Linked DNA regions of Homo sapiens: all the other regions are linked to region 3. Evidence: promoter capture Hi-C in 16 types of primary human blood cells and fetal thymus (Javierre and others, 2016). All regions are on one chromosome and are shown on one strand. Each heading gives the region's core, a stretch centred on a gene start or on the middle of the fragment in contact. The rest is flanking DNA. Distances are from core to core; before and after follow the strand shown. Region 1 overlaps SHOC2 (SHOC2 leucine rich repeat scaffold protein). Region 2 holds the start of MIR4680 (microRNA 4680). Region 3 holds the start of MXI1 (MAX interactor 1, dimerization protein). Region 4 overlaps RBM20 (RNA binding motif protein 20).

Region 1 (5,345 bases), core at 1,852-4,351, 770 kb before region 3:
GGAGTAGAAGCCACAGCTGGGAGCTTGGTAGGAACACTTACTGCATTAATTCATTCATTCAGACAAAAAATTATTGATATGTACATTCTCTTTTTCCAGACACAATACTGGGCACTGAAGAAACAGACTACAATATACTAAATGTTTGTATTCATGAAACTTACAATTCGTAAAAAGACTATAATGTGATTTGAGGGAGGCTAGAGAGTCTCTGCTCCAAATAGGTCCTTCACTGCTTGCTTATAAAATTTCACCATTAAAGAGCCATTCTTTTGGATCTTCATGGCCATTCACAAAGTTCTTTATCTTTAAGGTGGTGACCCATTTCACTGACTCATTCATGAAAGAAAAACTTACTGTGCACCTACTAGAGATTCAACAGTGCAGGAAATGAAACAAGTTTCCATCTACATGAAAGATTCAGCAGTGCAGGAAACAAAGCAAGTTTCCATCCACATGAAACTTACACTGTAGTGTGCATGGAGTGGGGAATCATAAAATAAGGAAATAAAGTGTCAGAATGTGATAACTGCTGTAAACAACAACAAGAAAACACATAAGGAAAGGAAGTTGGAACTGACTGTTGGGGGAAGTTGGGGTGAAAAAAAAAAGCATATTTGAACTGAGACCCAGGGGATTGGGAGGGAAAATAAGCAATAAGGAGAGGAGGGGAACAAAGTGAGAAATCTAGGGTCTTAAATATCAACCTAAGGAATCTAGACCATTTTGACCAGATAATAAAGCACAATTTAAAGTTTTGAAGCAAACCATGATAATCAGAGTACTGTTCTAAAAAGTCTGTTTTCTCTAGGTTTGAATGGATGGACTTGAGAAAGACAAATAAAAAACACAGAGCCTAGGTTGAAGCTACTGCAATTAGCCCACGAGAAATAGTGTGAAGGTCTATACTACCTCAATGGCAGTGGAAGTAAGTGAGTGAACAACAGGCCTACTATCAAGAGAGAAGAAAAAGTGACAGGACACTTTGGGAGGCCGAGGTGGGCAGATCACGAGGTCAGGAGATCGAGACCATCCTGGCTAACACGGTGAAACCCCGTCTCTACTAAAAACACAAAAAATTAGCCGGGCATGGTGGTGGGCGCCTGTAGTCCCAGCTACTCGGGAGGCTGAGGCAGGAGAATGGCATGAACCCGGGAGGCGGAGCTTGCAGTGAGCAGAGACTGCGCCACTGCACTCCAGCCTAGGCGACAGAGTGAGACCATCTCAAAAAAAAAAAAAAAAAAGTGACAGGAATGGGGTAGAACAACGCTTTTCAGACTACAGATGGTGAAGGCCTGGTTCTTTGTCTTTTGCTGTTCCCAACTGGTTGTAGATGAATATTTAAAACACAAACTCACACACTTGGATGTCTCAGCAATGTCAAATTGTTATGTAAGATTCTAAATGCTTACTTTCAATTTCTGTTCTTAATTTGGGCAAACTAGTAACAAACAGTTGGTGGCCCAGTACCTGTCTAGTGAGTAGGCTACACCTTGACTAGAATCAGAACAACAACAAAATTCTCTGATCCGAAGATACTGAGCTTGGGTTGATAGAGAAGATAAGATGCAATTATGAGAGAGGAATGGAATCCACAAGGAAGAAAAGTTGAGCTGAAGTTACAGTTTGGTCATGAAGAATTTAAGATATCAGTGAGACATCTACGTAAAATATTTAGTGGCTAACTATGGGGGAAAAAGATGAAGAAAATGTTATCATGGTAGAACATTTTTGTCCTAAGAGAAAGCTGGATTTAACATCTGCAAACACTGAGCTCTGGCTAAGGGTGGTGAAGTCGTGTTGATAATTTAAAACTGTGGATAAAATACTTAAAGGCATACAGGGAGACCAAAGTTAAAACTAGAGGGAATTTACCCTTAAAAGAAGAGAACTGTAATAGGCAGACTTCTAAGATAACCCCCAATGGCCCTGCCTCATGAATAATTGTATACGTTATATAATTACCCCTCCCCTTGAGTGTGGGCTAAACTTAGTGACTTGCTTCTTACCAACAGAATATGGCAAAGGTGATGGGATGTCACATTTGTGATTCAGTTACAAAAGATTCTGACTTCCACCTTGCTAGCACTTTATTGATGTCTTAGCTTACACGCTTTGATAAGGCAAGCTGCCATGTTGAAAAGACCCATGTGAAAAGGAACTAAGAGCAGTCTCCAGCCAACAGCAAGAAATTGAAGCCCTCTCTCCAGCAACCTGCTAGGAACTAAGTCCTAACAAAAACTACATGAGTTGGGATGTGTATCCTTTCCCAGATGAGTCTTCCCAAGCCCTGGCTAACACTATAACTGAAAAACCTTGTGAGAGACACTAAATCAGAAGGTCCAGTTAAGTTGTGCCTGATACCCAAAACAAAGAAACTATAAGATAACAAATGATTGTTGTTATAAGAGTTATCTTTTAGAGTAATTTGTTACACAACAATAGATAACTAATACAGCAATCACATGAGATTTACTTTCATAAATGCCTTTTTATAAAGCTTTTACCATGAAGTAACTAAAAAATCTGCAGGTGAAAAGTAAATCTCAAGTCGAAGGCCAGAGTCCTACTGCCTAAGAAGCCAAAGGACAGAGTTCAGGGTTATAAGAGTGACTGGAATTCAAGGTTGGATACTCTGTAAAGGAGGAAATCACAAAGAGCAGAGCCCTAAAATCTTCAAATACACACTCCTCAAATTCTTGCTGACTCCGAAAATACATGTGGGAGAGGAGACTGCAAGGAGCCCAAGGGGAGAACCACAGCTAGAAGGCTAAAGGAGCTGAGCAGAGATTTCAACAGTTGCCAACTGTGGTCTTTAAGAGTTTGGATTTTCAGTCTTGTCAAGTTGCTGGAGAGTAATAAACAAAATTCCAAAAGGGCTATAACATAGGAGAGTAAAGATCACATCTCAAAACTAAGGAATTTACCCTAGGTTTAAGGCTATAACCAAATAGCATCACCCTTACAAGAGCTAAATCTAAGTCTCTACGGTCAAGGTGACTCAACAGCAATTTAACCGCCTAGCAGAACAAAATGTAACACTTTTCAGAGGATAATGGAATCCACAGGAGTTACAGTATTAGCTATTTATACTAGCCAATCAAGAATTACTAGACTGTCTTCTATTTACCACCATGATGCAACTAGAAAATGAACAAAATGTTTGAGAAAATGGTTTGCAGACTGCAGACAACAGCCATATATGACTGTATTCCCTTGTATCACAGGAAAACAACAGAAGTCCCATGATTGCCCCAGGTTACTGCCTGGAGGCAGGTTCCAGGTCACAGAAAAAGCAGGGAAGGAATATAGAACAAGGGCCAATAGTTATTACTAAGTTAGGGCAAACGATTTTAGTCTAGGAAAGCCAAGATGGTTAGAATTTGGGAGGCAGAACTGGAGACAGAAGAGAGCAGCAAATAGATTTGTGCAATCTGCAAGAAAGTCTTATGCAGTGTTTGCCTAAATTCTTATCTGCATTAGGTACAAACAGACTACCAAAGGCTAGGCAAAGACCTAGCAGCAGCAACCCAAACAATTCCCAGCAGTCACACAAGGTTGTGAATAGTGTGAATTCCTACCAGCCACAAAAAGACCTCATAATATATAGTTTATCAGGGAGTCATCAAAATTTATTACCTTAGTAGTGGGGTTAAATTAGATGTAGACAAAAGGCTACTAAAACTACCATAACAAAGCTTAAAAGCAAGCCACGAAAGGATTAAACTGACTACAGAAAAATTTAACTGTATGCCAGAACAAAGTCCAGCACTATTAAAAGAATACAACAAAATCCAAGACTCAACAATGTGAAAATGTTATGAAGCTCACATCCAATTAAAAATTACTAAACATGCAGGATGGGTACGGTGGCTCACGCCTGTAATCCCAGCACTTTGGGAGGCTGAGGCGGGCGGATCACCTGAGGTTGGGAGTTTGAGACCAGCCTGACCAACATGGAGAAACCCCATCTCTACTAAAAACACAAAATTAGCCGGGTGTGGTGGTGCATGCTTCTAATCTCAGCTACTCGGGAGGCAGGAGAATCGCTTGAACCCAGAAGGCAGAGACTGCGGTGGGCCGAGATCACACCATTGCACTCCAGCCTGGGCAACAAGAGCAAAACTCTGTCTCAAAAAAAAATTACCAGACATGCAAAGAAGCAGGAAAATATGACCCACAACCAGGAGAAAAATCATTCTGTAGCAACAAAAACAAAAATAAAAGAGGAAACTATAAGACAAGGACAGTGAAAAAGCTGTTAAACAATGAGCTCCATATGTTCAAGGTAAAGAAAACTTGAATAAAAATGACACCCAATGGAATGTATAGAGGTGAGAAATAAAATACCTGGTATGAAAACTTCATTGTATAGAACAGTAAGATTTAGACACTGAAGAAGAAATGATATACAGCAACAACAAAAAAATAGCAATAAAATTATCTAAAATATACATGGACACACATGGACAAACAGAGCATCAATGACTTAAAATGTAAAGTCTAATATACATGTAATAAGAGACTCAGATAATAGAAAAAAAATGACCAAGTAAGGGAAAAGTTACAAGAAATAATGGCCAAAATTTTTCTAATTTTGATGAAAACCATAAACCCACAGATCCAAGAGGCTTATAAACTCCAAGATCAGAATAACAGCAGACTTCTTGTCAAAAACTAGGCAAGCTATAAGAAAATGCAGAGGTGTCTCTAAAATACTGAGGGGGGAAAAAAGGAAACTTTCAAACTAGCATTGCTATATTAGGAAAAACAGCTTTCAAAAACGAAGGCAGCAAGGTGTAGTGGCTCATACCCTTAATCCCAACATTCTGGGAGGCTGAGGTGGATGGATTGCTTGAGCCCAGGAGTTTAAAGACCACTCTGGGCAATATGGTAAGACCCTGCCTCTACAAAAGATACAAAAACTAGCTGGGTGTGGTGCACACACCTGTAGTCCCAGCGACTCGGGAGGCTGAGGAGGAAGGATCACTAGAGCCCAGGAGGTCGAGGCTGCAGTGAGCCATAATCACACCACTGCACTCAAGCCTGGGTAACAGAGTGAGATCCTGCCTCAAAAAAAAAAAAAGGCAAAATAAAGATTTTAAAATAAACAAAGCTGAGTGAATTCATTTTGAGCAGACCTGTACTACAATATGTTAACGGACGTTCTTTGGGCAAAAGAAAATGATTTGAGGCTGGGTGTGGTAGCTCACGCCTGTAATCCCAACACTTTGAGAGGCCGAGGCAGGCGGATCACCTGAGGACAGAATTTGAGACCAGCCTGGCTAACATGGTGAAACCCCGTCTCTACTAAAAATACAAAAATTAGCCGGGTATGGTAGTGT
Region 2 (5,769 bases), core at 428-2,927, 690 kb before region 3:
ACCATCTCGACTCACTGCAACCTCTGCCTCCCAGGTTCAAGCAATTCTCCTGCCTCAGCCTCCCAAGTAGCTGGGATTACACGCATGCGCCACCATGCCTGGCTACTTTTGTATTTTTAATAGAGACAGGGTTTCTTCATGTTGGTCAAGCTGGTCATGAACTCCCAACCTCAAGTGATCCGCCCACCTCGGCCTCCCAAAGTGCTGGGATTACAGGCATGAGCCACCGTGCCCAGCCCTTAAATCTCATTTTTAAGAAACCCTCACCTATTCTGTAGTCAGCTAAGCTTTTAATTACATTAATTTTAAGCACTTGAGAATAAAATGACTGCATTTATCATCCAAGTGTCAAACAATTAAAAACCTAAAAATGGTAACTATATATAAGCTGAGGTAATATGGGCTTGATAAAGCCCATGAGGTAAATATGAACACTAAACTTGGTTTTAATTCTAACAGACTATATCTAAACCTGTAAGCAGTATACTCCTAACAGTACCCTCATAAATTCTGAATATAATTCTTGTTTGCTGCAGTCAATATTTGGCAGTTTAAATTAGCACAGACGTTGAGGCCTTGCTGAGTTATTAGGCTATGTAAAAGAGGTTAAAAATATGATCATTCTTTATTGTTAATTGGTAATATTTTCTCATACATTAGGTAAATGTCAAGCTTTGGGTCTCTGGAGTATAACTTTTTGTAACATTAGCCATTATTTGGTAACAGAATTTAAGGATGATGGAATGATGGAAGGTATTACATATTTCTAAAACTTAATTAAGCTCTAGGTCAGATAACAATGGAGTAAAGTGATACCTGCATTTTTTTCCCCAGTGTAATCTTAATTTACTATTGTATTTTTCACTTAAAATTTTGTAGGGAAAAAAAGTTTTCAAGGGAACACTAAGATTAAATTGACTAGGTTCAAATATGCTTCCTTATGAGATTCAAAATTTACTGTGTGAAATTAAAGTTTAAGAGACCTAAAAAAATGTACTCCCAATAAAGAATCAATACTGCTTCACATGTTTTATTTTGGTGTACATTCTTCTAGAACCAGGTTCATTTTTCCAGTTTTGTAGAAAAATAGATGTTCCAGCCACCTTTTACTTAACTGTCTAGTCTTTTAAGACCAATCAGTATGTTCCCTGGAAAGATGAATAAGTCTCATGACTAATTTTTTAAAAATTCTTTAAGACAAAGAAATAACTTTCTTTTTTTACTCCCAAAGCACAGTATCTCAACAGCAGCAGCCAACATGGGGTTTTAGCAGCTTAACTTTACCCCCTAAATAAAGCTTTGTATAAACCAGTGATTTTACTACAAAAAACACTGTCCTTGAAAGAAAGGAGTGGCAGTCAGACATCAATGCAAAACTTGGAATGATTAGATAATAAACATGGCACTTACAAAAGGTAGCTTATTAGAATATTCCACTTAAGAAGAGGTTACTTTTCTGTCCCTCCTTGCCCCCTCGAAAAACAAAAAAAAAAGAAAAAACATTTCCTTTAAAAATTCCCCTTAAATGTAGGTTTATAAAATGTCAGAAATGCCTTGTACCCAAAACAAGTGCTTAAAAAAAAAAAAAAAAAAAACTTGTGCTAACAACTCTTACAATTCAGATATATATTTTTATAACATCTAAGACTGCAAGAGTTCTTATATTCAGTAGCTCTCTGGTTTAAGACGACCTCCATCTCCTTCGCTTACAAAACGCTTTCTGCCCCTGTAATGAAGAAAAAAAAAGACATGAAAACAGATACAAATTCTGACTATAGTCAATATATAAAAAAATTAAAAACTTGGTATTTTTTCGTTACGTGTTAGCTTTTAAAGGGTTTTCCATTAAAAAAAAAAAGCATGCCTCTAATTCCTTTGGAAAAGACTCCCTACTATATATCTTAGCATAAAACATCAATATCAAATCTGAGTTTTTGTTTTAATAAGTTCACTATCCAAACAGAGTCACATTAAAAAAAGTTGACTCAAACTAAAACATTTTATTTAGAAATTTAAAATTATTTCTAATTAATTTCTAATTATTATTTGTAAGCTTAACAGTAAGCCAAATAGGAAACACTAACATAATTCAGAATTATGCAAACTGGAGCTGTGCAACCTATCAAAATATCCATGTTTGGCAATTTAAAAAAAAATGTTTTATCAACTGTAGAAAAGCCATAACTTGAATGTGGAAAAAAATCAGAATTACAGCCTATGCCCCATTTTGGGATTCGTGCTTTGTCAAACTCAAGAAGCCCTGCTCTATAATGTAACCACACTCTTACCTACATGTAGTGGCAATAGCCCAGAAGGAACAGCTGGCCAGTGGCCTAAAGCAGTAAGTGGGAAATAGAACTTAGGCAACATTAGCCCTTACTCTCTGACCCCAGGCCAATAGGCACAAGCATGCAAAACCACACACAAATGTGCACCTTACCCAAATAGGCTAAAAGATGAAGGACCCAAGTCAAAGCTGTATGGTATGTATACACAGAAAGTTTATTGCCTCATGTGACCCTTGAGAATAAAGCCACACAGAAACAATCAGACTTTCAAACAGAGGCTGAAAAACTTTCAAAAAGCCAATGCCAGGGTACTGGCCCCTTTTCATATTAAGTCTAAGTGGAAAACAGCTACATCATCTTGAACATAAAGGCTTCAGACTGTATGAGACCAAGGTAGGGAATGAAAAAGCAGTCAATAATAAGAAGGCCAAAGTTCAGAGTTTTTACTGATGTATATCACTTGGCACATCCATACATAAATCCTGCCATCACCAAGCTAACGTCTGTATTTCCAAACATTTCTAGTAAAGCTATTAAACTATCTTTCATCACTTTCTTTTCCCTCTCTTTTAATGGCTTCTAAAATTCTAAAGCAAAGGCCCCTACCAGGAAATATTTTTCTGACTTTTAATTCTTACAATGCACTTAAAAATATCAAAGCTTAAGAAATTTTCCAGATAAAAAATTATAAGAACTTAAGATTATATAAAACTGACCCACACAAGCAAAAAGTTTAGCTATTACTAAACATTTATATTATTACATTATAAGCTTCATTATTAGCTTTAACAACAACAAAAAAACTTACCAACTAGTAGCAAAAATATTAATAGCTCCAAGGAAAATCACCCACACACATACACTTTCCAGTGAGAACATCCTCCACACACCCCCCAACACACACACTTTCTAGTGAGAACATCCAATTAGCCCTAATTCTCCAACCTGTAAAGAAGTCAAGGAAGCCACATCCAGTACAGGTAAGAGCCTAGATCTTTGAAGCCAGAAAAGTCCTGAATTCATACTTGGCTTCTACCATGTACTAGCCATGTGACCTTAGAAAAAGTACATTATACCTCCCTAAGCCTCAATTTTCTCATCTTATCACTGATAATACCTACTCTAAACACTGAAACTACTTACAACAAAGGACCTGCTCCACAAGATTAGTTTCTTTCAAATAAACTAGGACTTCATGAGGCAGTCCTGTACAGATTTACAAGGGGGCTAAAACAAGCTTCGCCCTTCTTTCTCCATGAACTCACAAGAGTCACGTTCTTCAGTGACTTCAGGGAACGATAAACTAACTTAGCAGTTAACCTTCCCAAAGATCTCATCCACTATTTTACATTGAGAAAGTAGTATTTAAATAAAGTACCTTGAAGGACAAAGATCTCTGAGTTGTTTGGAAATTATTCCAGCCTGAAAACATTCTTCTACAAACCGCTCCAGCACAGAGTATGAATGTGGGACATCCAGATTAATGTCCGGAATTTCATTGTAAATTCTCTCATAACCCTACAACAATGAAATTACATGCAGAATTGTTAGCCCATATAAAATAAATGTCATAAAACACAATCCATCACTATGTCATCAATTTGTATTTAAGGCCAAATATTCAAATGGTTAAACTGAAGTCAGATTTGAATCGTGAGAAGCACAGAAAGTAGATTTGTTACAGTGTTTTACAACTGTTCTCTTTTATTAGAGTCAGGAAATAACAGACATTGGCAAGGTTGAGGAGAAAAGGGAAGGTTTATACGCTGTTGGTGGGAATGCAAATTAGTTCAGCCCCTGTAGAAAGTGGTTCGGAGATTTCTCAAAGAACTCAACATAGAATTACCGTTCAACCCGACAATCCCATTACTGGGTGTATACCCAAAGGAAAATAAATCATTCTACCAAAATGACACCTGCATTTGTATATTTATCGGGTACTATTCACAACAGCAAAGACATGGCATCAATCCAAGTGCCCATCAATGGTGGATTAGACAAAGAAAATGTGGTACATATACGCCCATGGAATGCTACATAGCCATAAAAAAGAACAAAATCATGTCCTTTGCAGCAACGTGGATGCAGCTGGAGGCCATTATCCTAAGAAAATTATCACAAACATAAAACCAAATAATGCATGGTCTCACTTGTAAGTGAGAGCTAAACATTGGGTACACACAGACATGAAGATGGGAACAATAAACATTGGGAATTTCAAAAGTGGGGAGGTAGGAAAGAGGACAAGAGTTGAAAAATTACCTATCAGGTACTATATTTACTACCTGAGGGACAGGATCATTAATTAGAAGCCCAAACCTCAGCATCACACAAAACACCCATCTAACAAACCTGTACATATACCCCTCTGATATCTAAAATTAAAAATATAAATAAAAAAATAAGTAAAACTGGTTACATAGCTAAAAAATTTTTTTTAAATACTGTTCTCTTAAAAGAGCTGTAAGCAGACATCAGACATTGGGCAAACTCCTTTCCCATCTACTTCTCTATTTACACTTACTACCTTTTTAAAAAAATACAAGGCAAACAAAAACCTCACAAACATTTAAAACAATAATCATAAAATTTTTAATAGGAAAAAAGTACTTTATAATTTGTTAAAAGTTAAAGGTTCATGTTTCTCTCTAGATATAAAATAGAAATTGTCACATCTTAGAAACCGAACCCTTGAGGTAGAATACATAATTACATTTGTTAAAGTAGGTAAAAAAAAAAAAAAAAACACTGCAGTGTTACTTTCCAAAAAATGGTTGCAAAAGGTTCAAACCTCAAACATTACCATTAAGAAAAAACAAAACATATAGGCATATTAACACTAAACATACCTAAAGAAAATTTCACTGACAATTCATAATCTGTATTCAATCATATATTTAAGACATAATCCTACAAGTTGTTCAAAAACAATGTTATACTTACTCTTTTCATTTGGTCTACAGTAATGGTAGAAGACTTCCAAAGGGACTTTAATAAATCCAAAATCATCTTAAATGTACTTTCTCCAGTTGACTCTAAAACCATTATAATAGCCTAAAAATTGAATCAATGAGTGAATTTTTGGTTAATTCATATATGAAACTGCTCCTAAAATGCACCTAGATGCCTTCTGTAATCGTAGAAATTTAATAACCACTTCCTCCTTTGATATTAAAAAAAGGATGTACATTATTTAAAAAGCATAAGTCGCTACAGTACAAAAAGGAACACTTAATAATTATCTTTGACATGGCAAGGTAATCTTACTTCATATACAAGCTCATGGTGAAAATGAGGTACTTCCAGTTCCTTAAGGCAATGTTCAGCTTCAGATATGTCTCCAGAGAGTAAATATTCTTTCAGCAGCATATCAATCTATTAGATTTAAAAGTTGAGATGTGTCAGAATTCCTAACTTTTAAAATATCGTGCTTGCCTACAGGATTATTTGCCCTCATTCCAATATAATGAAATAGTGGGTA
Region 3 (6,053 bases), core at 758-3,257:
TGCGCCTTTCTCGCAACCCAGGCACTCCGGGAAAACAGGCGAGAAGAGAAAGAAAAGAACGCACCACCGACCTCACAACACAAATCCTCGTTTTGGCCTTACAGCGTCTGCACAATTGCGCTGCCAACACACGGTTCCTTTAACCCTGAAGACCTGGGGTATCAGTCAGCAATGGTGTTTTTGTGTCTGAGGGTTGTTGTGTTGGGTGGGGGGAAGGTTGCAAGATCTGACACGTTGCAATCGGGACCTTTCTTCTTTCTTTCTCTCTCTCTCACACACACACGCGCACACGTACACACACACACTCGCGCCTCATTGATCTTCCTACTTGTTCGGACACATTAAACATCCCGGTTTCCCCCTATCTGTCGGTCTGTCTGCCTAGTTCCCTTCCTCCTTTTCACAGCTATTATTCTGAGGACGGTGCTGGATACGCTGCACACGCGTGCCCCCGTTAGGGCGCTGAGTCGACTGCCTGGGGAAAGCTGGGTGACCTGGCTGGTAGGGGCAAAAATGAAACAAATAAATACAAAAAAGAAGCCAGGCCAGGGTGGGGTTCCCAGCACACCCCCACCCACGCACTACTATCCACGTGAATCTGGGGGTGGGCGGGTGGGGGGAGTAGAAATCGACCAGGAAGGCGTTTGCCTTGCTTGCCCTGTGCGCTCACTCAAGAGCCGTCTCCCGGAAAATAAAGAAAAAGCACAGAACAGCCCACACCTTCTTCCCCAACTATTGTTTCTCAAAGATCCCAAAGTTTCCTTCTAGCCGCGTCCCCACGGCCAAGTTTCCCGGGCTCAGGACGGCGTGTCCGGGGCGAGCTGCTGGCGTTGCTTGGCCCCGCCGGCCTCCTTCTTTGGGGGGGGGGGGGCGGCGGTGGCACCCCACGGCAACGGACGTGCAGGGGGACTGTGTCCGTAGACGTGATGGCCTGAGCCCAGTCCTGCTGCTAGAGGGAAGGAAAAAGGCGAAGTAGGAGGGAGAGAGAGAGACAGAGCCGAGCCCACGCCGTGGAGAGCTGTTTGGTTGTTATTGTTGTAGTGTGTGTCTGTGTGTTTTCTTTCTGGAACCTCTGAGCTCTGCCTATGGTTTCCAACTTTCGGCTTCTAATCCCCACCCCACCCAGGAACGAGCAACAGAAAAACAACACTTGTCTGCCTGAGAAGGCTCCGGAAAAAAAAAAAAAAAAAAGGAAGAAAAGCGACCTCAAAGAGATGAGCTCTCGGCTCAGTTGTCAGCAAACAACAACACTCCCCCGCTCCTCCGCTGGGCCATCCTCCCAGCCCCAGCCCGCCGGAGAGGACAGACCGACGCACCGACAGGCCCCTCTCCCCCTCGCCCGTCTTTGTTACATCTTTAGCAGCTTTGTGCGTGCGTGTCCTTTCTCCGGTGTCATCGGCTTTACTGCCAAGGGCTGGATGTGTATGTTGGGCGGGGGGGGGACGGGCCGAGCTCGCAACAGGGGTCGCCCAAGTGGGCGAGAAAGAAAGAACCGGGCGCCGAGGAAGAGCAGGGGCCCCCAAACTTACTTTTGTTTTCTTTCTCGATCTGCTCCAGGTAGCTGGCGGCCTCGAGCAGAATCTGCACGTTCTGCAGAAAAGTGTTGATGTGCTTCTCCATCGAGTTCTCGCTGGTGTTGAAAATGTCTGAGAAGGGGCACCTGGGCTTGGCCCCAGCGGGGTCCTCGGGCAGGGCCGGGGGCTGGGGCGCGGCCACGGCGGGGGGCACAGCCGGGGGCGCGGCGGGGGCCAGCCCCGCGCCCTCGCAGCGCGCCTCCTTGCGCGGCCGCCCGCGTTTGCCCATGGAGGAGCGGGGGTCCGCCGAGCTCGTCCTCTAACGGGGCTGCGCGGCCCGGCCGAGCTCCGGGCCCCCAGGGAGACCCGGCCGGCTGGAGCAGAGAAGGCGCCGGGGCGAAAAGCCGGCCTGACTTCCCGAGCCTCGCTGCCTGCAGTTGTGTGTGTGAGTGTATGGGAGTGTGTGTCGGTCTCGCTGTGAGTCTGTGTGTATGGGAGATTGAATGAACCTACAGGACAGACGGAGGCACTCTGGCGCCTGGGTCCTAGTGCGAGCCTGTCGCCATCGGACCGGTCAAAATAAAAGGTGGAGACTAGCGAGCGAGGCAGGGACCGCCCCTGCCCGTCCCCGCAGGCTTCCCTGCCTCTCCCCAAGGCTTACCACAGAGTAGAACACTGTCTTTTAACCGGAATGGAAAAAAATACCTGATGTCTCTGGGTGCACCTGCATAAAAACAAACTACTTTTTTCACAGAAAAATAATGCCTCAGAAAGTGTCCAGCACAATGCCTGGCACATAGTTAGGTCCCCATACATGGTGGCTGCTATGACTTAAAAATAAATAAATAAAAGCTCCCCAATCCAAATGGGAAGAAGGGAACCAGTGTGTAACCAGAAGATCCCCCCACCCCCAACACAAACACTCCTACTCACAGACACACATACATACGTAATCACGCACACACTTGCGAGGCACCTGTGTGTGCCTTCACACAGTCAAATGAAATCCCAGGCCGTCCAAATCCGAGTTACAGATTTACTCATGCCTTTCTCCCTTCAAATGCAAAGTTATTTTCCAGAAGTGGGAGGAGATGTCAGCATCCCTCTCCACACTCCTCTGCCCAGCCTTGGTTCAGCTGTGCAAAGCTCACACCAGGATGCCTCCACACCTGGCTCCCTTTAATTTGAGAGGCAGAAGTGGCAGCTCAGGAACCACCCCCCTCCCCAGCTGAATTCCACCTTTTGCCTCTGAAAACCCCTACCCCAGCTGACATTGTTTCACTGCCACTGCTGTCCGCAATCATGGATGCTTTCCAGCCCTGGGAAGTACTGGAGGTGTCAGGGGATGATTGAAGGCTGCTCTAGGGTGCCATAGGAAAGGGTTCAAATCCCAGCTCTGCTGCATACAGACTGTGTGAGCTTGGACAAGTCCCTTAACCTCTCTTGGCCTAAGTTTCCACATCATTGAAATGTGTGATAAGATGCTTGTGTATTGTATCTGACTTAGCACACTCTGGCCCATGGTAAGCTCTTTTTCTTCCAATCCAGACCCAGGCAAGAGCCTGAGTCCCCTATTCTGATGTAACTTGTATCTAAGAAAGGAACAAGATGTAGTGAACAAGACTCTTCTGCACTTCCTTGGAAAATATCTCTATGACAAGCCCATCTAAATATGGTTACTTTGCAAGGTCACCTGGAGTTTTCCTCCAGGGGAACCATTTATATAGAGGACAAAGACAATGCTGCCCCCTGGAGGTGTGCGATGCAGCCACCCTACTCAAAGGCAGCTTCATACACATTGTCATAAAAACTCTTGATGGCCGGACGCAGTGGCTCACGCCTGTAATCCCAGCACTTTGGGAGGCCAAAGCGGGCAGATCACCTGAGGTTGGGAGTTCGCGACCAGCCTGACCAACATAGAGAAACGCTGTCTCTACCAAAAATACAAAATTAGCCGGGCGTGGTGGCGCATGCCTGTAATCCCAGCTACTCCGGAGGCTGAGGCAGGAGAATGGCGTGAACCCGGGAGGCGGAGCTTGTAGTGAGCCGAGATAGCGCCACTGCACTCCAGCCTGGGCGACAGAGCCAGACTCCGTCTCAAAAAAAAAAAAAAAAAAAGTTTATCTTCCATTATTAGAACAATTACTGATTTTTTGCTTCTGTGAGAACCACAACCTGAGTTATTCGTGTTGAAATGCCTGTAAACATCTAAAAATGTTAGGAAGACCTCATGTATGCACAGTTTCAAACAAGCTTTCTCCAATGCCATTTTGCAAAAACTGGCCCTTGTGTGAAACAGCTCTGATCTCTCTTGCCCCAAATGAAAGATGGTACTGAGACAATGAACCAGCTAAGCCCAGAGAAAACCTTGCTTTCTCTTTAATTGCCCATTGGTGGCATGGGTCAGATGTATAGTACTGCAACATACATGCACCACCAAGACAGGCACACGCATGCATGAGTGCCATGGTGGGGGAAGGGTGTTTTGTAATTATTTATTTATCCCTGTTCCATCTCTCATAGGTCTGCGAGTTTCAGAAAGCCCAGTGGGAATCTTCAAGCTGGGCCACGGATCTGACCAAAGCCAAAATAAACAATGGCTTGAAGAAAATCTACAAAAAAGTGCTGATTTGCACTATTCCCACAGTCGGCCACAGCCCCCACCATCATTCCCATGGAAAACACCACGGCTGGTGCCAAATCAAGTTTTCCCCCCATCATAGGGGCATTGTTTTTTGTTATTATGTGAGTTCTTAGCATCAGACAATGGCACCACAAGAGACACAGTGGAAGCAGGAGAAATGCCTTTTTGTTTCACAAAGTCTGTGTTACTGTGCCCCCAGAGTCTCGCATATAGTTTAGTTGCATATATTCATTTTGGTAACACGTATGTGGAACGACGAATGTGCCAAGCTAAAGCCCGAAGCCCCCTCCTTATTTGTTTTCAGAGCCCATCAAGTGTTAAATCATATTAACATCCCATTGCTCTCTCCCTTCTCCCGCTCCGTTCCCCAATTAACAGATTTCTCTAATAAAGTTGGCCCCAACAGAAAGAGTGGTGTTTCAGGGGTTATATCACAGGACAGGCATCCAGGATGCTGGGTTACAAGCTCAGCTCCATTCCCGATTAGATTTGCTTCCCAGGAGGAGCCATTCAAACCCTTTGCAACCCCCCCTTTCTTTGGGGTTTTGATTCCAGAAGTAAACAGGCCCCTTTGGAAATGCTGAGAATTTCTGCATAGAACAGGTAGGGGATGTGAATACAGCCATTCTGATGAGAACACATGTGAACTCTTTGAAAGAAAAGCAGAAATGCCCAATGAAGTCAGCTAGAATGCTCTCAGAGGGCCCGGGATATCTTGGGTGCCCAGTCGGCCTGGGTCCTGCTTTCCCAACACTCTGTTCATTTGTTTGTTTGGCTTATTTGCTTGTTTGGCAATACCTTTCCATGGACCTTGTTTGTATATTAAAGCAAGATTGTTCTTTCTTTTATTTGCCCCTTTCCCCCCAGACGTTCTATACTCTTACATCAAAGGAGTTGTTTGGCCTATAATTATGTCTTTATGTACACAGAGGCTGGTTAATTACTGAGAAGGCGATGGATGCGTTGCCATCGAAACCTACCCACCTTGCATTGGGATGGGATGCTCTTCCCTCTGTCATGGACCATTTTGGCTCTCTTGGGTTCCTTAGCCTTGCTCTTCCTGCCTCATCTATTCCCCACTCACCAGCCTTTTCTGCCTAAATCCGTCACTCGTCCACCCTCTAGTTTCTCCTTGGACCTTGCCAAAATGTCCTAGTCAGATTCTTTCTTACTCTTTGCCCTGTGATCTTTGTACTCAGACTTGGCAAACACCATGAAGAGCTCTTCTGTCCCCTCCCTTGTCACTTGAGTCCTAATTCTCAGAGCTTTCCCAGCCACAGTTTTCCTGGGTACCTTTCCCTTTTGGAAAGGAATCATCTGGCAGTGAGATGAGGAACTGGCTCACAGCTCCTTCTCCTTGGGGGCCTGACTCTTGCTTTCATTTGTTAGAAAGGAGTGGCCCTGTAGAAGGCCCAAGAATAGAGGGTTAGGAACTGTAAGACACAAGCAGAATGGTAGGAACAAGGAGAACTGTGAGACTCTGCCTCTCCCATGGCCTAAAAGTGCTGACCAGGCCTCCTCTAACCACTGCCCATACCACCCACCACCACCCACACACTCACCAGTGGGTATAGACATGGGCAGGGGATAAGTAGCCTCCGCCCTACAGTGGAGTTCACTGGGTGTCACCTGCTCCTGGAGGCATTATCTCAGCTCTCCTGGACTCTGCCCTCCTTTCTCCCAGAACTGTGAGTCTGGCAGCCTCTTCCTGGTTCAGCAGACTCCTGGGCTTCTCCTGTCCAACACCCAGTACTTAGAGGGCTTATTAGACTATGAGCTCATCAAGGGCAGGAAGCACACCTTGCTCCTCCTAGCATCCCCAGGCCCTGGCACCTAGCACATGCATGGCATAATACTGGGGCTTAGGTCACGAGTCAAAGGCATGAATGCCCTTC
Region 4 (5,285 bases), core at 2,146-4,645, 620 kb before region 3:
CAGCCCCGGTGAGAGGAGCCATAATAGGTCTTAAATATTTCATGAGTGAATAATAATAATAGACAACCCTTATTAAGTACCTCCCACTGGAAGCCACTAAGACCTTACCAGTATTTGTTCACTTAATCCTCGAAATAACTCTGCGTAGTAGCCTCCTATTACTATGGCTGATTCACAGATGAAGAAATCCAAGCAGAGGTTAAATAAGTTGCTCTTTGTCATCCAGCCAGTAGGTAGTAGACAGGGGATTTAAACTCAGGGAATCAGATTCCACAGACTGTGTTCATAGTTTCTGCACAAATGTAGCCTTTCCTACACTGTGTTGCTGCCTGAACTGGAAGAACCTGGAGAACAGAGTGATCTGAGATCGGAAATCCTGAGTTTTTTTTTTTGTTTCTTTTCCTTTTTTTCTGAGACAGGGTCTCACTCACTCTGCTGCCCAGGCTGGAGTGCAGTGGCACAATAATGGCTCACTGCAGCCTGGATCTCCTCCCAGGTTCAAGCAATCCTCCTCCCTCAGCCTCCCAAGTAGCTGGGACTGCAGATTTACACCACAACTCCTGGCTAGTTTTATTTTATTTTATTTTTTTGCAGAGACAGGGTCTCCCTATGTTGCCCAGGCTGAGAAATCCTGAGTTCTAACCTGCGTTTGCTATGTCATCCTGGGTAAGTCTCTGGACTTCAGTTTCCTCACCTGTCAAATGCAGAACCTCATACCATACTCTTCCTTCGGGGACCAATGAGATAATGAATCTCAAAGCTAACTGAAGACTATTAACAAATACAATCTGTAAAGGCCCCGAACTGAAAACAACCCAAATATTTGTCAACAGATGAATAAATAAACAGAATGTGATGTATCCATATATGCAACGCAATACTCCTCAACAATAAAAAGAAACAGACTGGCCGGGCACGGTGGCTCACACCTGTAATCCTAGCACTTTGGGAGGCTGAGGCAGGTGGATCACCTGAGGTCAGGAGTTCAAGACCCCAACAGTTCAAGGCCAACATGGTGGAACCTTATCTCTACTAAAAAAAGACCAAAAACTAGCCAGGCGTGGTGGCAGGTGCCTGTAATCCCAGCTACTCCGGAGGCTGAGGCAGGAGAATCACTTGAACCCAGGAGGTGGAGGTTGCAGTGAGCCAAGATCATGCCACTGTACTCCCGCCTGGGTAACGAGAGAAAAACTTTGTCTCAAAAAAAAAAAAAAAAGAAGAAGAATGAAACAGACTACTGATCCACCCAACAGTACAGATGAATCTCAATGATGTTGAGCAAAAGAAGCCAAACTAGCACATACAATATGATTCCCTTTATATAAAACTCTAGAAAATGCAAACTAATATTTAGTGACAGAAAGGAGATCCTTTACCTGGGGGTTGCACTGTGGGGAGGGAGGGGTTACATAGGAGACAGGAAATTTGGGATATGATGAACATTGTTCCCAGTCTTGATTGTGGTGATGGTCTCACAGGTATATTTATAGGTCAAAACTGATCAAACTATGCACTTGATATGCACTTACTTTATATCCATTATAACTCAATAGAGCCAATTTTAAAAAGGTGAGATACTATTTTCTTCCTAACTGGTTAGGAAAGATTAAAAACTGATAAAATCCAATGGGAGGTGGATATTGGGAACTCTCACTCAAGGTCGCAGGGAAAACTGATACCATCTTTTTGGAGTGCAATTTAGTAGCAATTATGAAAATTTAAAATGCAAATACATACCACCCTACAACCCCCTGGCTAGGACGCTCTCCCACAGGAACACTGGCATACACATACCACTGAACAAGCACATCTGAAAGGCAGCAGAGAACAGAAGCTAAGAACATGGCTCTAGAGTCAGATGACTGGGATTTGAACCTGACTCTGGTTTTTGCCAGTTATTAGCTGTGTGACTCTGCATTTCAGATTTTTTATCTGTTAAATAAGGATAAAAACAGCACCTACCTCATAGGTGTTTTGAGAGGGTTAAATGTGATAATACATACAGATCCCTAGGGATGGTGCCTGCATGGGGAATGTTAACAATAAAAGCTTAGCTATTAAAATGGGAAAAAGAGCAGACAGCCTAACTGTTCACCAGCAGAGGAAAGATCAGTCATTTATAGCATAGCTTTTACGATGGAATATTTGCAGTGGTTAAAAAGAATGTGTTCTCTATGTACTGACATGAAGAAATGTCTAAGACCTGCTACTAAGTGAACTTGCAGAACATTATGTGTGTAGTGTGATCCCATTTTTGTGAGAGAAAAACTGGGCATGACAGTGGTAGGCTACCTCTGGAGACTGGGGAGAGACTGGAGGGAAGAGATCAATCAGACCTTTAATATTGACTTGATATGGTTCTTATTTTTTGAATTTGTTACAATAATCTTTCACACTTTCTATAATGAAAAACAGTAGTAAAACACAAATTACAAGGTAGCAGAATTTATTCTTAATTTTTGCTAGTATCAATTAGGTTCCAAGTTCTTGGATGACAAGAGACTTGCGTTATATTTCTTGGTTACCCCAGAGTGTCTAGCACAGTACCATGTTATCCAGTAAGTATTTGCTGACTGACTGAATGCATGAAGGAGCCCTCTCTTCTCCTGCAGGGTGGCCTTTGCAACTGTTTTCTAGAGCTAAAATACCCAGGGTCATCTCAGTTTATTCTAAAGTTAGTATTTCTTTTTCCTTCTTTCTTATGTTTTTGTCTTGGGAGATGCTGTGCAGCAAATTTATCCCTTAAAAAAAAAAGGAAGTTTGCTCTCCAGATCTGACTATAAAAATGGTACACCTGGAGGAAAGAAATAGTAAGAGATTTTTTTAAAGGAGAAGGGAAAAAAAGAGCAAGTTGGATGGAAAGGACGAGCCTCCACACTGACCAGCCCCTCCCTGCATGATCAGACACGTGGTCATCAGGCATCAGATGACCCGTGCTTTTTATGCTTCCTTGTGACACTTTCCCAGGTGACACTTTCCTGAGCTCTCCTTCTGAGCAGCTGCTACTACTACTTTATCTAATTCCGACCTTTCAGAGCTAATGCGAGGGGACTCAAAGATGATGTAGGCTGGAGTTGCTGGGTTAGTGGTTGTGTCAGAATCTCCCAGGGAACTTTCTTAAAGTGCCTTCACTCCCTACCCTGAGACTCTGCTTAACTCTTCTCTTTGAAAAGGGATTCATTCCTAGGTGATTCCATCAGTAAACTCCCTCCCCACTTCATTCCCAACACTTCCACCATTGAAAAAATCGCTGTCTAAATTACAGAGAGGAAACTAAGGCTCAAGAAGGGGTATGACTTACCTGAGGGCACACAGTCACCCATAAGTAGGAAGAACAGAAACCCAGGTCTCCCTGTTCAATACCCTTTCTATGAACTAGGGGTAGTCTGCCCCAAACACATTCTATTCAGCATCATTGCCTCAGAAAAGTTGGTCCTTTAAAGAGAAAAAAATATGTAGCATTGTTCTGGGAAGGACTGGAGCAATGAACAATAGCAGACGAAGTTCATTTTTGTTGACTTTATGGAGGCTGCTGGGCATCTGCTTTCCTGCCTGAATAAAGGCTAGGCTTAAAGACTCCATGTCATCAAGAATAAAGCATTCCCTGACAGGAAAAACAGGACTTCTTAGTTCTGGGTCCCAGGGCACTGTTATTCAAGGCTGTTTTCACGGAGTATCTGGTCTATTACGGGAGACTGAAATTGCAAGAAAGTTTACAGCCGCCCCTTGCAAATCTAGGTTATTGCATCATACACTTAAAATAACGATAGGCCGGCCAGGTGAAGTGGCTCACACCTGTAGTCCCAGCACTTTGGGAAGCTGAGGCAGGAGGATCACTTAAGCCCAGGAGGTGAAGACCAGCCTGGGCCACATATGGAGACCCCATCTCTGCAAAAAAAAAAAAAATTAAAAAAATTAGCCGGGCCTGGTGGTGTGTACCTGTTGTCCAAGTTTCTCAGGAGGCTGAGGTGGGAGGATCACTTGAGCCCAGGAATTTGAGGCTGCAGTGAGCTGAGATCATGCCACTGCACTGCAGCCTGGGTGACAGAGTGAGACCTTGTCTCAAAAGAACAAAAAACGATGTCAACAACAAAATGCCAAAAAGCTCTCTCAAGCTCTTGAGGTTGCTATGGAACTGTTATTTCCTAGACCTGAATTTCAGGAAAGACTGTGTGTTTTGCTTACCTAGAGGAATGCTAAGTTCACTGAACACATCCTCTGGTTCCCAAGAGGGCAAAGAAAGGGGCTGTTTCAGTTCCACTTCAGTGTACTCTGGTGACCTCACCTCCAGAGATTTCATTTCCACGTACCTGGAGTTTTCTGCAAAACATGAACCAAGGCAAAAAAAAAAAAAAAAAAAAAAAAAAAGAAATACAACATGCCTCAAAGAGTCCCTGAAATTCTATGCCTGCATAGTATGATTGGGAATTGTTCCTTGGACTGCTTAATCACATAAGGCTGGGGCAATGGTTGCTAATTAGAACCAAAGCACTGTCATTAGGAGCTTTTTCCACTGCCAAAAGAATGCCACACACAATAAAACTTGGCAAATGTTTGCATTTGGCCCAGGGGGATGGGCTGCTGATGCCTTCAGTTGAGAAGATCCACCCCCCACCCCCCATGCCTCCCATCTCAGTATCATTCCATCTCTGCAGGCAGAGGAATTACTGACGGGCAAAAATTGTGCTGACGTCCACCGAGGCTAGCAAAACAGGCAATGCCATTCTCTCCCCAAGCTTGTCAAGCTGTTATTAAATATGAACCCCAAACACTGGGTCAGTTAATGAGCCTCTAACACTGGCACATGTTGAGACCTATACCGCAAAATAAAAGGGGCTTGATTGGAGTGAGGTGAAGATTTCACTCCTCCTTTATTCTTGCCTTCTCTAGACAGAGCCTGGGCCTCACGGTTTCTCTAGCAACAAGAAGGCATTTCACGGCGGGGTTTCCATGGAAACTCAGATCCGTGCAGGTAAAAAACAGCTCAGGTCAGCTTGACATGGAAAAAATCCCAAGCCTCCCAGTTACCTAACAGCTCATGCCACCCACAGGGCCCTGGGTTGAAATGTTCATTTTTAAGCCTTTCCTCTGTATTTTCTGCCCCTGACTCTCACTTCAACCTCTGGTGTGCTACAGGCTTTCTGTAAAGCAAATCCCTAATTATTTTCACAGTGAGAATCTTAAAGGCTACTCTCTCTCCCTCCCCCCAAACCCCCTGATGGATCTTAAGTTCCACTTGGCAGAGAAGACGGGGCTTAGCCTATTTTAAACTCTCTCTTTCATGA

What was found. Contacts are between HindIII fragments. The CHiCAGO score rates a contact against its expected background, and 5 or more counts as called.
Region 1: a fragment that was not itself captured here is called in contact with the fragment with the promoter of MXI1 in region 3 in 1 of 17 cell types (total B cells); the score reaches 5.3 in total B cells.
Region 2: a fragment that was not itself captured here is called in contact with the fragment with the promoter of MXI1 in region 3 in 1 of 17 cell types (activated CD4 T cells); the score reaches 5.4 in activated CD4 T cells.
Region 4: a contact is called between a fragment that was not itself captured here and the fragment with the promoter of MXI1 in region 3, in 1 of 17 cell types (fetal thymus). The highest score is 5.1, in fetal thymus.

The regions. Positions count from the first base shown.
Region 1 is chr10:110,976,058-110,981,402 of GRCh38, reverse strand. All of the region lies in intron 2 of SHOC2 (SHOC2 leucine rich repeat scaffold protein), which reads right to left. Among named protein-coding and RNA genes, the nearest start is that of MIR548E, 10 kb to the left of the region's middle. The HindIII fragment of the contact is 1,198 bases long and covers 2,503-3,700 here.
Region 2 is chr10:110,893,985-110,899,753 of GRCh38, reverse strand. PDCD4 (programmed cell death 4) reads right to left here. Exons shown (of 12, transcript NM_014456.5): 9 at 5,556-5,663; 10 at 5,232-5,342; 11 at 3,667-3,806; 12 at 1-1,726. The coding sequence ends at 1,666. BBIP1 (BBSome interacting protein 1) reads left to right here. Exons shown (of 4, transcript NM_001195305.3): 4 at 1-1,024. MIR4680 (microRNA 4680) reads right to left here and starts at 1,664; the gene lies at 1,599-1,664. The HindIII fragment of the contact is 756 bases long and covers 1,300-2,055 here.
Region 3 is chr10:110,203,559-110,209,611 of GRCh38, reverse strand. It overlaps MXI1 (MAX interactor 1, dimerization protein), which reads right to left and starts at 2,007. Exons shown (of 6, transcript NM_130439.3): 1 at 1,530-2,007. The coding sequence starts at 1,803. RefSeq lists a silencer at 1,757-1,836 and an enhancer at 3,426-3,926. The HindIII fragment of the contact is 6,685 bases long and covers 1-3,769 here.
Region 4 is chr10:110,822,515-110,827,799 of GRCh38, reverse strand. It overlaps RBM20 (RNA binding motif protein 20), which reads right to left. Exons shown (of 14, transcript NM_001134363.3): 12 at 4,186-4,320. Among named protein-coding and RNA genes, the nearest start is that of PDCD4-AS1, 46 kb to the left of the region's middle. The HindIII fragment of the contact is 2,687 bases long and covers 2,052-4,738 here.